2 separate regions of the Homo sapiens genome follow, and region 1 is linked to region 2. Evidence: promoter capture Hi-C in human tissues and cell types (Jung and others, 2019). All regions are on one chromosome and are shown on one strand. The core of a region is centred on a gene start or on the middle of the fragment in contact, and the rest is flanking DNA. Distances in the headings are between cores, read along the strand shown. Region 1 overlaps RABGAP1 (RAB GTPase activating protein 1). Region 2 holds the start of GPR21 (G protein-coupled receptor 21).

The links. The method cuts DNA at HindIII sites, captures the fragments that hold promoters and counts their contacts. A contact is called where the count stands out against the background at its distance.
Region 1: a fragment that was not itself captured here is called in contact with the fragment with the promoter of GPR21 in region 2 in 1 of the 25 tissues and cell types used here (aorta).

The regions. Positions count from the first base shown.
Region 1 is chr9:122,987,504-122,994,727 of GRCh38, reverse strand. RABGAP1 (RAB GTPase activating protein 1) reads right to left here. Exons shown (of 26, transcript NM_012197.4): 5 at 5,257-5,431; 6 at 4,515-4,672. Among named protein-coding and RNA genes, the nearest start is that of GPR21, 43 kb to the left of the region's middle. The HindIII fragment of the contact is 8,131 bases long and covers 119-7,224 here.
Region 2 is chr9:123,031,174-123,037,902 of GRCh38, reverse strand. GPR21 (G protein-coupled receptor 21) reads right to left here and starts at 4,236. Exons shown (of 2, transcript NM_005294.3): 1 at 4,161-4,236; 2 at 2,238-3,732. The coding sequence starts at 3,336. The coding sequence ends at 2,287. All of the region lies in intron 13 of RABGAP1 (RAB GTPase activating protein 1), which reads right to left. The HindIII fragment of the contact is 5,815 bases long and covers 161-5,975 here.

The sequences.
Region 1 (7,224 bases), core at 2,935-5,434, 43 kb after region 2:
AAAAATCTAAATTGTATCTTATTTCTGTACAACTTTAAGATAATGGCAATAGAACCATTAGTAGCTACCGTAAATGGCTAGATAAAAGCTCTGAACACCTACTCAAACTTAAAGGTAGCCCTAAAGAAATACTAATTTGAAGCCCTTCTGCACTTTATTACTATTTATACTAATTCAAGAACATTTTTGAATACTTCCATTAGAAAATCAAAGAATCTTAGCAAAGAACTCTAAAAATGTCAAAAATGTTCAAAGAAAATTTTTGCATATCAAACTGTTAAATATTTGTGACAGAGTTTTCACCTATAAGGAAATGGAAGGGTCTCAATTTTCAACTTGTAATAGATACACTGGTCTCTATGTTCTTTGGATGCTCAAGTAAATATAATCCCATTGTTTAGCAGTTTAAAACAACAACAATAGACAGAAAGTTGTCTCTGGTGTTCTGAATCTACAGGGATGCAGTAACAGGAAGCAGAATGGAGAGTGTAATCAGTGGGTGTTCACCTCACTGAATGTCAGGGTCCTAGATCATATTTCTGGTCTAATAACTACATCATGTGAATGTATCCAAGTAGGGAATTTAGTATTTAATTTCTATTGTATAAAATAAGAAACTGAAGTACAGGCTTAATTTCCCTGGCTTTACCTATAAATAAGCACAGTATAAACTACCCAATTTATCTCATGAGGACGGTTAGTGGATTAAGTAAAACAAAAAAGAAGTGTCTTGAATGGTACTTTGAATGAAAATGCTCAATTTAGGTCGGGCACGGTGGCTCATGCTTGGAATCCCAGCACTATGGGAGGCCGAGGCAGGTGGATCATTTGAGGTCAGGAGTTTGAGACCAGCCTGGCCAACATGGTAAAACCCTGTCTCTATTGAAAATACAAAAATTAGCCGGGCGTGGCAGCACATGTCTGTAATCCCAGCTACTTAGGAGGCTGAGGCAGGAGAATCACTTGAACCTGGGAGGCAGAGGTTGCAGTGAGCCGAGACTGCGCCACTGTACGCCAGCGTGGGTGACAGAGCGAGACTCCGTCTCAAAAAGAAAAAAAAGTGTGAGACCCTGTCTCAACAACAAACAAACAAATGCTCAGTTTTCCCATGGGCAAAATGGAGAAGCAGGTTTCTAATCATAATAATTTAAAAATTGGCCAGGCATGGTGGCTCACGCCTGTAATCCCAGCAATTTGGGAGGCTGAGGCAGGTGGATCACCTGAGGTCAGGAGTTCGAGACCAGCCTGGCCAACATGGTGAAACCCCGTCTCTACTAAAAGTACAAAAAGTAGCCAGGCGTGGCGGTGGGCACCTATAATTCCAGCTACTCGGGAGGTTGAAGCAGTAGAATCACTTGAACCCGGGAGAAGGAGGTTGCAATGAGCCAAGATCACGCCATTGCACTCCAGCCTGAGTGACAAGAGGAAAAACTCCGTCTCAAAATAATAATAATAATAATTTAAAAATTATACTTTTTCAGAAATGAGAAGAGCATTAATTATTCTCATCATACTTTGTCTATATTTATGTTAAAGTAAAACCACAGTAAATCTTGTGTTATACACAAATATGAGTTGGACAGGGGATAAGTAATATCCATAAACCAACATGTTTTAGTACTCTATTCAACACTTAATTTCTACTTTTAAAATTTGCTATTAATATTATACACAGTATGTTGGAGAACATTCATAATAATAATTCTTTGAAAACCTCAATGATTATTTCTGCAGATAAATTTCCATACATATTACAGAATTACTGGATAAGAGGAACTACCTTTGACAAGTTTAAATCTGACAAACCAAGGTATATTTTGCTAGGATTTCATACATCTAAAGTACTGTTGTGTTAACCTAATATATTTAGGTATAATAATTATTTTGGTATAATAATTATTTAGGTATAATATTTAGATAAAATAAATATTTAGGTATAATAGTAAGTATATAATAGGTTTTATATAATAATAGGTATATAACTATTACATAATTTATATGTATAATATATAATTATTATTATACCTAAATAATATATATTAACCTAATATATTTAGGTATATTGATCATTATACTTAAATAATATATTTAAGTTAACATAACAGTATTTATTATAAACCAGAAATTCAGCAAAGCCATGTAGCAAAAGGAGAACAAAGTCCTAACAAATGTGAAAAGCAAATCTGACCATCCAGGGATTTTCTGTAATAGCACTTTGTCAGTATTAACAAATAGAACAGAGATGTTTATGATCATTCTACCTTGAATATGCCTGATTTCAGAAGGAAGGGAAGTTATACTGATACTTCTGAGGGATCTTAATCTTTCCTATTTAATAATTAGAATTTACAGACCAAAACTACATAAATATTTTCAATAAAGAAAAAAAGGCCAGGCATGGTGAATCATGCCTATAATCCCAGCACTCTGGGAGGCCCAGGTAAATGGATCACTTGAGGCCGGGAGTTTGAGACCAGCCTGGCCAACACGGCGAAACCCTGTCTCTACTGAAAAATAGAAAAAATTAGCCCGGTATGGTGGCAGATGCTTGTAATCCCAGCTACTCAGGAGGCTGAGGCATGAGAATTGCTTGAACCTGGGAGACAGAGGTTGCGGTGAACCGTGATCGTGCCACTACATTCCAGCCTTGGTGACAGAGCAAGGCTCTGTCTCAAAAAAAAAAGAAAGAAAATATATTTAGTTTAAAGGTTGCTTAACAAGGTAAAAAACTACTTAAAATTATACAGATTATAATTTTCACTTTGCAGGGCAGGAAGGTACATTGCAGGAAGGACTACCTCACAGCATTGCTTTGAGAATAGAAATAGTCAGGAATGGTTGGCTCATGCCTGTAATCCCAACACTTTGACAAGCTGAGACTATCACTTGAGACCACGAGTTCAAGACCAACCTGGGCAATGTGGCAAGACCCCATCTCTAGAAAAACTTAAAAAAAAATTAGCCAGACATAGTGGCATGCATCCGTGGTCCCAGCTACTCAGGAGGGCGAGGTGGGAGGACTGCTTGAGACCAGAAGGCTGAGGCTGCAGTGAGTCATGTTTGTACCATTGCATTCAAGCCTGAGCAACAGCGTGAGGCGTATCTCAAAAAAAAAAAAAAAAGAGAGAGAGAGAATAGAAATCTATCTAATTAGAAAGCATAGAGCACAATGAGTCATACTTTACTCCTCAAAGTTTAAGCTGCACTGTACACTAAATTGGCCACCAGATGGCATGACAATTCCAAAGTCTGAAGAAAGACTAAAAATTATCAGTTTTTCTAATAATCTAATAAACCAATCACTGTGCTTAATTTAAAAGCAAAATATTAGAAATATTCATATTTTTATATAACTTCATTTTACCAATTTAATGAGGTAGTCATGGAGGAAACAGACTTCTACATGCAATTACTGATTATAATACAATCATTTTGGGACATGGGCTGTAATTTTAAAAACATCAAGTCATCTTGCAACCATAAAATTTTAAAGTGAGAAAGGGTTTTAGAGTCTAGCCACCTCATTTAATAAATGAGGAAACTACTGACAGATGTAAAGAAACTTGGAAATGGGGACACTGTTAATAGTAACAATAATTAAACTAAAGCTAAGTTTTGACTTCTATTCCATGGTTCTTTCCACCACTCAAAGGATTATCATTATATTTAAAAATTAAAATCAGTCACTTCTAACCCTACAAAAGATTAGACTTCAGACACAGACCTTATTTCTCCCCTTCCAATGTATGCAGATAACTTTACTGGGAAAACTTGACTTGAAAAGGCTTAAGATTTTTAGATTATTAATATAAGTAAATCAACCAACTAAAACAAGCAAATACAATCAGCAAAACAAATATAGCTACAAATCCAGCTGACTAAGCTTTGGCCATATATATATATATATATATATATATATATATATATATATTTTTTTTTTTTTTTTTTTTTTTTTTTTGAGACGGAGTTTCGTTCTCGTTGCCCAGGCTGGAGTGCAGTGGCAGGATCTCGGCTCACTGCAACCTCTGCCTGCCGGGTTCAAGCGATTCTCCTGCCTCAGCCTCCCAAGTAGCTGGGATTACAGGCACCCACCACCACGCCCGGCTAATTTTGTATTTTTAGTAGAGACAAGGTTTCTCCATGTTGGTCAGGCTCATCTCGAACTCCCGACCTCAGGTGATCCGTCCGCCTCAGCCACCCAAAGAGCTGGGATTACAGGTGTGAGCCACAGCGCCTGGCGGTTTGGCCATATTTTTGTGAGCAGTTAGCCACTTGGTATCTGACTAAAAGAAGGTAGCAACATGTTCCCAATATGACAATTTTTTTAATTGCTTTAAAATTCTTCAAACTTTGCCTCTGTTAAATTTATGTATTTATATGCCTTTATCATCCAGATTTTTTTTAAAAGCCCTCCCTTTAAAAGCCATCATTTTATGGTATGAAAGTTATAATCTGACCTAGAATTTCCCCTGAACCACAGCATGTTAATACATGAATAAAATAAGATTCCCTACCTAAAATAACCTTTACCATCATCTTCTTTTATTTCTAAAGACACAGAGAAGGTAAAGATGTCACTGTCAGGAGTCTGGGGTGCAGCAGTGGCTGAAAGTGGGGTCTGCTTGGCAGAACGGCGGAAGGCAGTGGCAAAACTGTAAAGTATCCGGCTTACCTACAACCAGACATGTTAGGAAATGGGCTGTTATCAAAAGATATAAAATACCTTTATTAAGGCTGGAAGATTACCTACTTTGGAGGGCAATAATTATCTTTATCCCACTTATTTCTTTTGGTAAATTACCTAATTTGTTAGGCCTATAAAGCAAGCAACACTAAAAATGTCCAGACAAGGGGTTTTAAAAAAGAAATGGTTGTAAGCACTATAAATCCAATTTAAAAATCACTTCCTAAATTGTTAGAAACTATCTGAAGATATTACAATGAAAACAGTCCTAACAAGTTTTGATTTAAAAGAATGGTTTGCAAATCTGTCAATGTTAGAACCAGAATGCCTACTTAACCCAATCAAAAGTAGCCAACAGATCTCCTCTGACATTCTTAGTAGTAGTAACAAAGTTCTAGTTAATCAAATTTTTAGTTAATTTATATTTTGGCCCATGAGGCTAGAATCACTAAAACAATAGCAGAGAATTTCATCTGGCTTATGAGTGATCATAATAAATACCATAATCATTTCAACCTAGTGAGGGCACTGGTGAAGTTTCATTTGCAGAGAGTTTTCTCTTGAGGACTTACAGCTTCTTGTATTTCACACCGGAAGACGTGTATTCTGAAGAGCTCTGCATTGTAATGACTTTCAGTGAAAGCAAAACAGTCACTCTCAGGAGTTCCATCATGCCCTCTGACACAGAAGAGGATTTTGTAGATAGGGTAGTTTGCTATTTCAGTGTTTGTCTGAGGATCTAAGAGTCTGTTCAGAGAAAAAGATACAGAGAGATTACAGGAATTATGAACAATCTGCACTACGTTTAGATTAAGATGTGAGACTCATTCTTTCTAGTAAGAAGATCATATATTTGGTATGCTGATATTAACCTTAAATTTTAATAAGTAACTCATATGTGAATTCCGGAAGCTATTGATTACGTAATTCCATAGTACTAAAAACCATATAGTATCATGTTTTAGGGAGGCAAACAGAAAGGTATAAACAATATCAATAAGCACATTTCTTATACAGTCTGCTACAAAATAAAGACGATTAATACGTAAATTAGACTACCAAAATACATCATTGAAGCTGTGCTTTTTTTTTTTTTTTTTTGAGACAAGTTTCGCTCTTGTTGCCCAGGCTGGAGTGCAATGGCGCAATCTCAGCTCACCGCAACCTCCGCCTCCTGGGTTCAAGTGATTCTCCTGCCTCAGCCTCCCAAGTAGCTGGGATTACAGGGATGTGCCACCATGCCCGGCTAATTTTTTGTATTTTTAGTAGAGACAGGGCAGGTTAGCCAGAATGGTCTCAATCTTCCGACCTCAGGTGATCCGCCCACCTAGGCCTCCCAAAGTGCTGGGATTACAGGCATAAGCCACCACACCTGGGCAAAGCTGTGCTTCTAATTATCTCCTTTAAAAATGACCTAATCTGTTATGAAAAAATAAAAAACAAAAAACTGATGCTTTTTCTCAGACTGAAACAAGTTTTTTTTTGATTCATGGAAAATAAGGACAGAAATTATACAAAATGTTAACTCCTCAAAAAAAAAAAAATCATGAATAAAAGCAAAAGGATGCCATTCAGTAAAAAATCAAAGGGATAGCATTCATTCAAAAATCTACTTATTCAACAAATATTTATGTGATACCTACAACATTCCAGACTCTGATCAGGGCAGTAAGGCACAACTATGGAAGGTCTAAAAAGAAACTATGCAATTTCAACACTATGTGGGTAGAGCCATTAATGGGAAAGCCTAGAAGGCCTTGCTCATCACGGAAATACCTAGGAAGAGGATCTAACACAGGTTTGAAAGCACTTTTATGAAAACTCTAAAAATGTGGGGTAAAACCGACTAGCTTTCTAACTTCTTTTATAGAATTAAAAATATATTAAAGTCTAACTTCAGTTAGAGGAATGAGTATTGACTAAGAAACATATAGAAATGAGTGCTAAACACATTTTATTAATAGTTTATCATTAATAAATAGAATTTGTGAGTCTTTGCAAAATAGTTATTTAAATACTTAAGGGGAAAAATTACATATACAGATTATTTTACTACAATCAACACACAGCTATTACTCTGTCACCATGAAAGTCCAAAATACTTCTGAGGATACTGAGAAATGGATATTCTATATACTGCTGATAAAAGTATAAACTAGATCAATATTTCTAGATGGCTAGTTGGCAATGTTATTAGAAGCAATAAAAATAGACAAACTCAATAAGTTTACTTCTAGGAATTTATCCTAAGGAAATCAACAGAAGTCTAAAAAGATTGAGCTCAAAGATACCTATTTATAAAACACTGATATTCCCATATAATTAAAACTAGCTATCATCATTCATGCTTTTTTCTCTGAAAGATAAAAGCCTTAAAATGTCTAATATAAGAGATGGGTTATTTATTTATAACCCATTCATATGCCATCATAAATTAAAATTTTTAATAATATTTACTGGCATGAAAAGAGGTTTACGATATAAAACTAAGTACAAGATGGTATGTACAGGTCCATTGCTGTTAAAAAAAAAAGTTGATT
Region 2 (6,729 bases), core at 2,987-5,486:
GAAGTCAGACTGGTATTTAAACTAAATGTCATCAAATGTTGCATTAAATATGCCAGGATGAAAAGTTCAGTTAAACATGAACTTTCCAAATATATCACACAGAAAACACCCCCAGCCACTAAAGGGGACACTACTGTGTCCAGGAGCATCTCCTCTCTCCCAACACATACACACACAACAAAATAAGATCAAACCTGCTGATTTAATATCAATTTTTCAACAAAAATTAAGTGTTTAAAATTGCCATATTTTCTAAACTAAAAATTCATAAGCAAACTGCAAATGTGAACAGGTTACATTCTCTAACATGTATGAAAAAAGGTAAATTTTGGTTTTTTAGATCTGTACCACTTAAAGGGAAAATGTATACAATACAACCATTTTTCAGAATCTAACAGAAAAGGTTTCCCATTTGAAATGGCAATTTAACCAAGCCATTTCTAACATAACTTGCAATTTCAGTATGAGTTCTAAATTTTGAAGCAGCTTAGAATAAAATTTGCTAACACTAAACATAAAGAGCAAGCAAGGTTTTGGGAAAAACCCAGAATCTGAAGTTTGAATGTTTATGTAATGCTTAGTCACTTAAAATAAAAAAGTTTAAATAGAACACAACTGAGGTTAAAATCAAGTTGATGTCTAAAGCCTAAAATCATAAGAACACTGGCATCATGATGGAAAACCAAAGCTTATCTGCCTGCTTTATAAATATCCATGTCCTTTCTTGGATTCAGAAATCCACTTTAACCCATGTCCCCTGGGTTTCTTCCATCTTCCATCTCACTGAACACCACTGTCGCATTCAGATTACAACCTCTAGCCAAAGGCAGAGATCAAGTAAGTCCCTTGAAGACTTCCAGAACATTTCCAGAACAGCAGAAAAGTAGAGGAAATACTCTCGTGCCTGGAGCTGCCGGAATTCCTTCTCTCCTTTTAGAAAAATAAACCTCTTGCTCTAAAGATAATCACTTTTAAGAACAAACATCACTACTACATACAAACACACATAACTCTCAATAATAATTCTATAGAAGAATTATAAAATCCTATAGGTTTTTCTAGTACTTTGGCAGGAAAAAAAAAAAAGACCATTAAGAACTGTATGCCAAAGGATTTTTTTTCCAGAGAGAAAATAGCAATAAGAGACTTAAGTGTTTTCCCTTCTCCTCTTCAAATGTGGATTCCTTAGCACTAACTGAAAGAATACTTTTCAAAAATAACTAGTTGATTCCATTTAACCACAAAGAAAATGTCTCAACTACCTTGTATTTTAAAAAAACAATCTGTATACTACGGTATACTTTCTGACTCAGTTGCTTATGACCGACACCCTTCTCCCTGATGTTCTAATATTTCAGAAGTCTTTGAATAGAAAGAACAGACAATATTAAAGACACATTTTTGTATATAGTCACCATTATAAAATGGACAGCCAACAGCCTATCACTGAATTACTTTTTAGCTTAAGCACATTTTGCTGTAAAAGAGAAATCTAACAATTCAGATATTCTAAATATAGACATAACACAAAGGCATGGGCAAAAGTACTACACGATTACTTCTACGCACACATATCTTTAGATCTCTGTGAAGCATGGCACAAAAAGTAGCTCAGTTTTTCATAAATTGTATAATTTGATTGCACTTTTGCTTCATGGTTCACTGTAAAATTCTAAAATTAATGTTTATGTGTTCACATTATTCACCCTACTGAGAATTCTCTCAAGAGAATAAAACACAGAACATTTGGCTTTCTAAATGACAGTGTTGAAACTTGCAGTGTAGTTATGCTTTGGCATACATAAAAAGTAATTTCTAAAACCTTTTCATTTATATTTTACTATTCCGTTAGAAGAAATCAATTGCATATGAAGCCCAAATAGCTGGAAAGAGCCCAGAAAGTGACAAGAAAGTGATGACTTTTTAAAATGCTGACGCTTTTCACACTCAGGTTCAGTCATGCCAGCTGGAAAGAGGTGTTAGATATGGCTTTATTCATTTTAAATCTGAGAACTGTAGTCATTTCCAAGACATTTCAAAAATTGAGAGCAAGAGCAATTTGTCTTCATGATCTTGAGTCTTCTAATTCACAAGCACTTTTGAAAACCATTTCTACAAACTTAGAAGGTATCCATACGAATAATTTGTATGCTATTGTTTAGAGTCAAAGTATTCTGTCCCAGATTTCCTAGTGAATTAGGAATACTTAGAGATAAAATACACACACACACACACACACACACACACACACACACACACACACGGGAACCCCGTAACTGAGCCACTTCAGATATGACATCCATTAAGAGGGCCTTTGCTTCTAACTGTGTAAGGGTCGTTGGCTGTAGTCTGACTTGCACAAGAAGTACACATAGCCCCTGAGAGGCGCTTTAGTCCTCTTTGGAATACACTGTTGGAGAGACTATAAATTACACAGTTGCAGAAACTGTTACTAATAGCAAGCCAGGTGGTCAAGAAGGATGCGAAGCGGTTGCTGTGGCCAGTGGAGCTTTCCAACAAGAAGTAGATGATATATGGCAACCAGAGGATGTAAAATACACTAGTGATTCGAAACAGGACCATGGCATAGCGCTTATCAGGACAGGCCTGCACTTCCCCAGTCTCCCCACTCTGGCTGCTGAAGCGGGCTTGCCTTTCGCTGATATCCTTTGTGTGCTGTTGGCAGATGCGGAAGATGTTGAAATAGGTGAAGCAGACAATAAGGGCTGCTGGGGCATATAACATCATCACGATGAACAGGGTGAAGTAGGAGTCGGTGTGCCAGGACTCCGCACACCACTGAAACACATCTCCATGATATCCAGGTTTGCCCCAGTGGAAAAAGGAAGGCAGGAAGACCAGGGTCGAGTATAGCCAAATCAGGAAAATACACAGGCGTAGTCTCCAGGGTGTAACCAGAGTATTATAGGTTAAAGGTTTAGTAATGGCAATGTATCTATCAATGCTGATACAGGCCAGAGAAGCCATGGAGACGCTCTTCAGAACTGATACTACAAAACCAAATATCTGGCAAGTCAAGGACTCCTCTACTGGAAGGGGGTGATGGAGGAGTGATAAAGAAGGGACCACGCAGCTCACCCCAACAAAAAGGTCAGCATATGCCATAGTCTGGATAAAATAACTTGTAGTGTGATGGTTCAACAAAGGTGCACAGTGAAATACAAAAATCACAATGATGTTGCCAGAAATAATCAATACAGTTAGAAAGACAATAATCAATACTTCCAAAAGGCAAAAATTGACAGTTTCCAAATAGCCAAATGCCAAGAGGCAAAAAGGGTGGCTGCTCTGATTACCATCCAAGGTGGAGTTCATCTTGAGCTCAGGAGTGATCTGTCACTTCATGCTGCCGCTTGGCTGCTGCCAACAGTTCAAAGAAGCAGCTGCTGTCATTGCGGTCAGCTTTGCATGTGTGTAATAATGCCAGAGGAGCCTTACTCCCCAAGCTCCTGATGCTGCTGCTCTGGTGCATTGCCTGCAGTGCAATTCCCCTTTAAATCCTTCCTGGAATAAGGAGAGCCAGCAGCAGTTGTCTGGCCAGTCCCAGACGCGGCCATAGTGCCAGGTTCACCATACACATAGCACCAGGGGAGCAAGGTAAACTCTGGGGAGAACGTCTTCAGGCCAAGTGAGGGTAGGGGGAAAGGGTAGAAGAGAAGGGAAGAAGATTAGGAGCTTCAGCAGGAGTTGTAATGAGTCTCCTCTGAACAGCTGATAGAAGAAAAGGAGAGAGCATTTTACATTTCACATCCAATGCCCTAATCAAAGAACCTGGCTAGCTCAGGCTGGCATCATCCCTCCCGCTCCACCCCTACTGGCACCACTATTCACGGCTACCCTCAATAGCACCCCACACAACTGATCTGTACTGTATAGAGGAGCAGCAGCAACATCAAGCTTTCAAGATCAGCATAAAACAAAACCAATCACAGTCAGATTAATTTACCCCCATTTCCTTTCATTTGAGACGGGGGAGAAAAGGAATTTGCTTATAATATTTAGGAAAACCTTTCACTACAATTACCACTAATAAAATTAGCCAAGATAATTTACTTTCTTCATTGATTCCAATATAATATTTTGCCTCTTTGAAAACATTTCAACAGAATTTACTGTTTAGTTCAATTTCAGAATGTTACCTGTAATTCTGCATGCTGCAATCCAAACAAAAGCCACAATACATCCTTAGCAGAAAGCCTTGCAAAGCAGGAATGTGCTTCAACCCGCGTACTGCAGAACTAAGACACGGAGGGAGGAGATAAAGGAGTAGGAGGGGAAACAGGGAGAAGAGGGGGCTTGGGAAAAGGAAGAAAGGGGGAGGGGAAAGAAAAAGCCTGTACGTGCACACACTCTGGCATCTTTAGCAACTAATTGGAATTCATCGTCAGAGAGGTGCCCCGATTTCCAGACTGCACAGTGTGGGAATGGCTTGCTATGCCTGCAGTGCACCATTTGAAGGCTGTTTCCTCGTCTGTCTGGAATCCCCCTTTTAGTAGATAAGCAGAATTCAGGGTGCTAGCAAGGAGAAGGGGTAGTAACAGAACAGGGTGTCAGGAATTAGACTGAAACACACTACCAGAGGGGTAATTTCTATTTTCTCACGGCATTTTCCCAAAGAACAAAGAGCAATATTAAAGAAAGGAAGTATGTTAACTTCCTTTAAGTGTATGGCGTATGGCAACTGAGAATCATAATTCAGCTGCACAAGAAGTTCTAGCTAGAAGGCTATTCACCATTAATTTTGTCTCTCATGATTCACTGAATATTGGCCAAGAAACTTTAAGATCACTTTTTCAAGAGAAAAATAAAGTATCTCCCATTCTGAATACTACACAAATAGCACAGATAAATTACACTGTTCCCATATTTGACACTACGCTATAATTTTGAGATGCATTTCTTGCTTCTAATTTGCTGAGCAGTAAACAAGAATACAAACAGAAGATAGAAAAGTAAATGTACCTTCTTCTACTCAGGCATGGATATTACAGGAAGTTTCATGGTACAAATAAGCCTTTGTATCTTAGAATATACAATCTTGCTTCTGCCTATTTAAAACAATGCAAACTGTATCATATTATATTGTGGTTTTCCTGGTAATGTCATAAATGATGACAATTTTCAGCTAACAGAGTTGGGTGCTATGAAAATGTGTAATTTTAGTATCTTTATTTAGAAGGATTAATTGAAAGTATCCAGCAGAATAAAAGACAATAAACAAATGCCGGCATTTGAAAGCATTCCAAGAGGTAGGCAACTGAGTAAAAACATGTGATCCAACTTTCATTTTTATTCATTTTATACACATGCTTTCTAATTACAGACAAATGGCCACCCATAATCAGAATGCGATGAATTACATTTTAAATCTGAAGCAGCAGCAGTTGTCTGGCCAGTCCCAGACGCGGCCATAGCCCCAAAATAAAAAACCTATTTAACCGTAATCCTGATAGTAATATTTGACAGGTCTTATTGGGAAACAGAGCGAAGTGTGTGGCACAGTAAAAAGACCAATAGCATCGAAGGAACAATAATCAGGTTCAAATTCTTGCTCTAATATTACTTATCCTCTCTTAAGCCTCTGTTTCATCATCTGTAAAATGAGAACAACACTCCTTACTTCACAGGGTTGTTGAGAAATAAAGTATATAAAAAAGGCTTACCAACACCTAGCACAGAGGGGGTATATAACTTTACTCACTTTCTGCTCCTACAACTAAAGTAGCCTTCCTTAAGAGCCAGTGTTTTCCTGCCCATCATGTTGAAATGCTTAAGGCTGGGCTCCTCTGAATCCTGAAGGGCCTGCTCTTACTGAGGCTATACAGTTCTAGGTCATACAACAGCTATCTGAATACAGTGCTGTCACACATTACTCAAATACATTGAGGCTATGCATATACAAAGCACTGAAGGTAGCTGAAAAGAAGGAATGATGACATGGCGTCAATTATTCCCTCAACATAAATAATTTCTCTGCCTAGGTCTCCAGCCCTGACTTCACTCCTAAGCTCCCTTTTCCATCTACAATTTGCCTGCTAGTCACACATTTTCCACCAGTAGATGGAAGATGTCCTGTAGATGTCCTGTAGAGATTTCAACCACAGCATGTCTAAAATCAAAAACCTTTTTCCCACCAAATAAGCCTCTGTATTTTTCCAACATTTTCCCAGGCACTCCGGTATGAAACTTAGGAATCAATCACCTTGACCACTCTCTCCCTCAAAGCACTTAGTTCTGAGTCACCAAGTCCTGAAAATGTATTTCCACAATAGTTCTCAAATGCATTTCCTCCTTTCAATTTTTAATACACTTACCATAGAAGATGATTACCACCTAAACTTACAGTTTTGTTCATTTTTCTAATTTTTTCTTTTCTGTCTGGTTAAATATCCAAAATGTACATTTTATTATTGTACCCCATTGTTCAAGAGTCAATGGCTCCTTTACTGCCTTTCTAGTCTGATCTCAACTGTTTTACTTCCCCCAAATAACCTGCCCTCCAGCCAAATCAGATTACTTCTATACACTTGCCATAGACTTTATTTTTAAACCATATTTACTGAGCACCTTAATAAATACGGAATAAAGGAGTGATTTTTGAGAGTTACTGCTGTATTTCAATAAACAGAAAAAGTGTTCACCAAAGTCAAAAGTCTAGGCTTTTCTACTACTACTTGTGAATTTGGGCATGAAACTTATTCTCTCTGT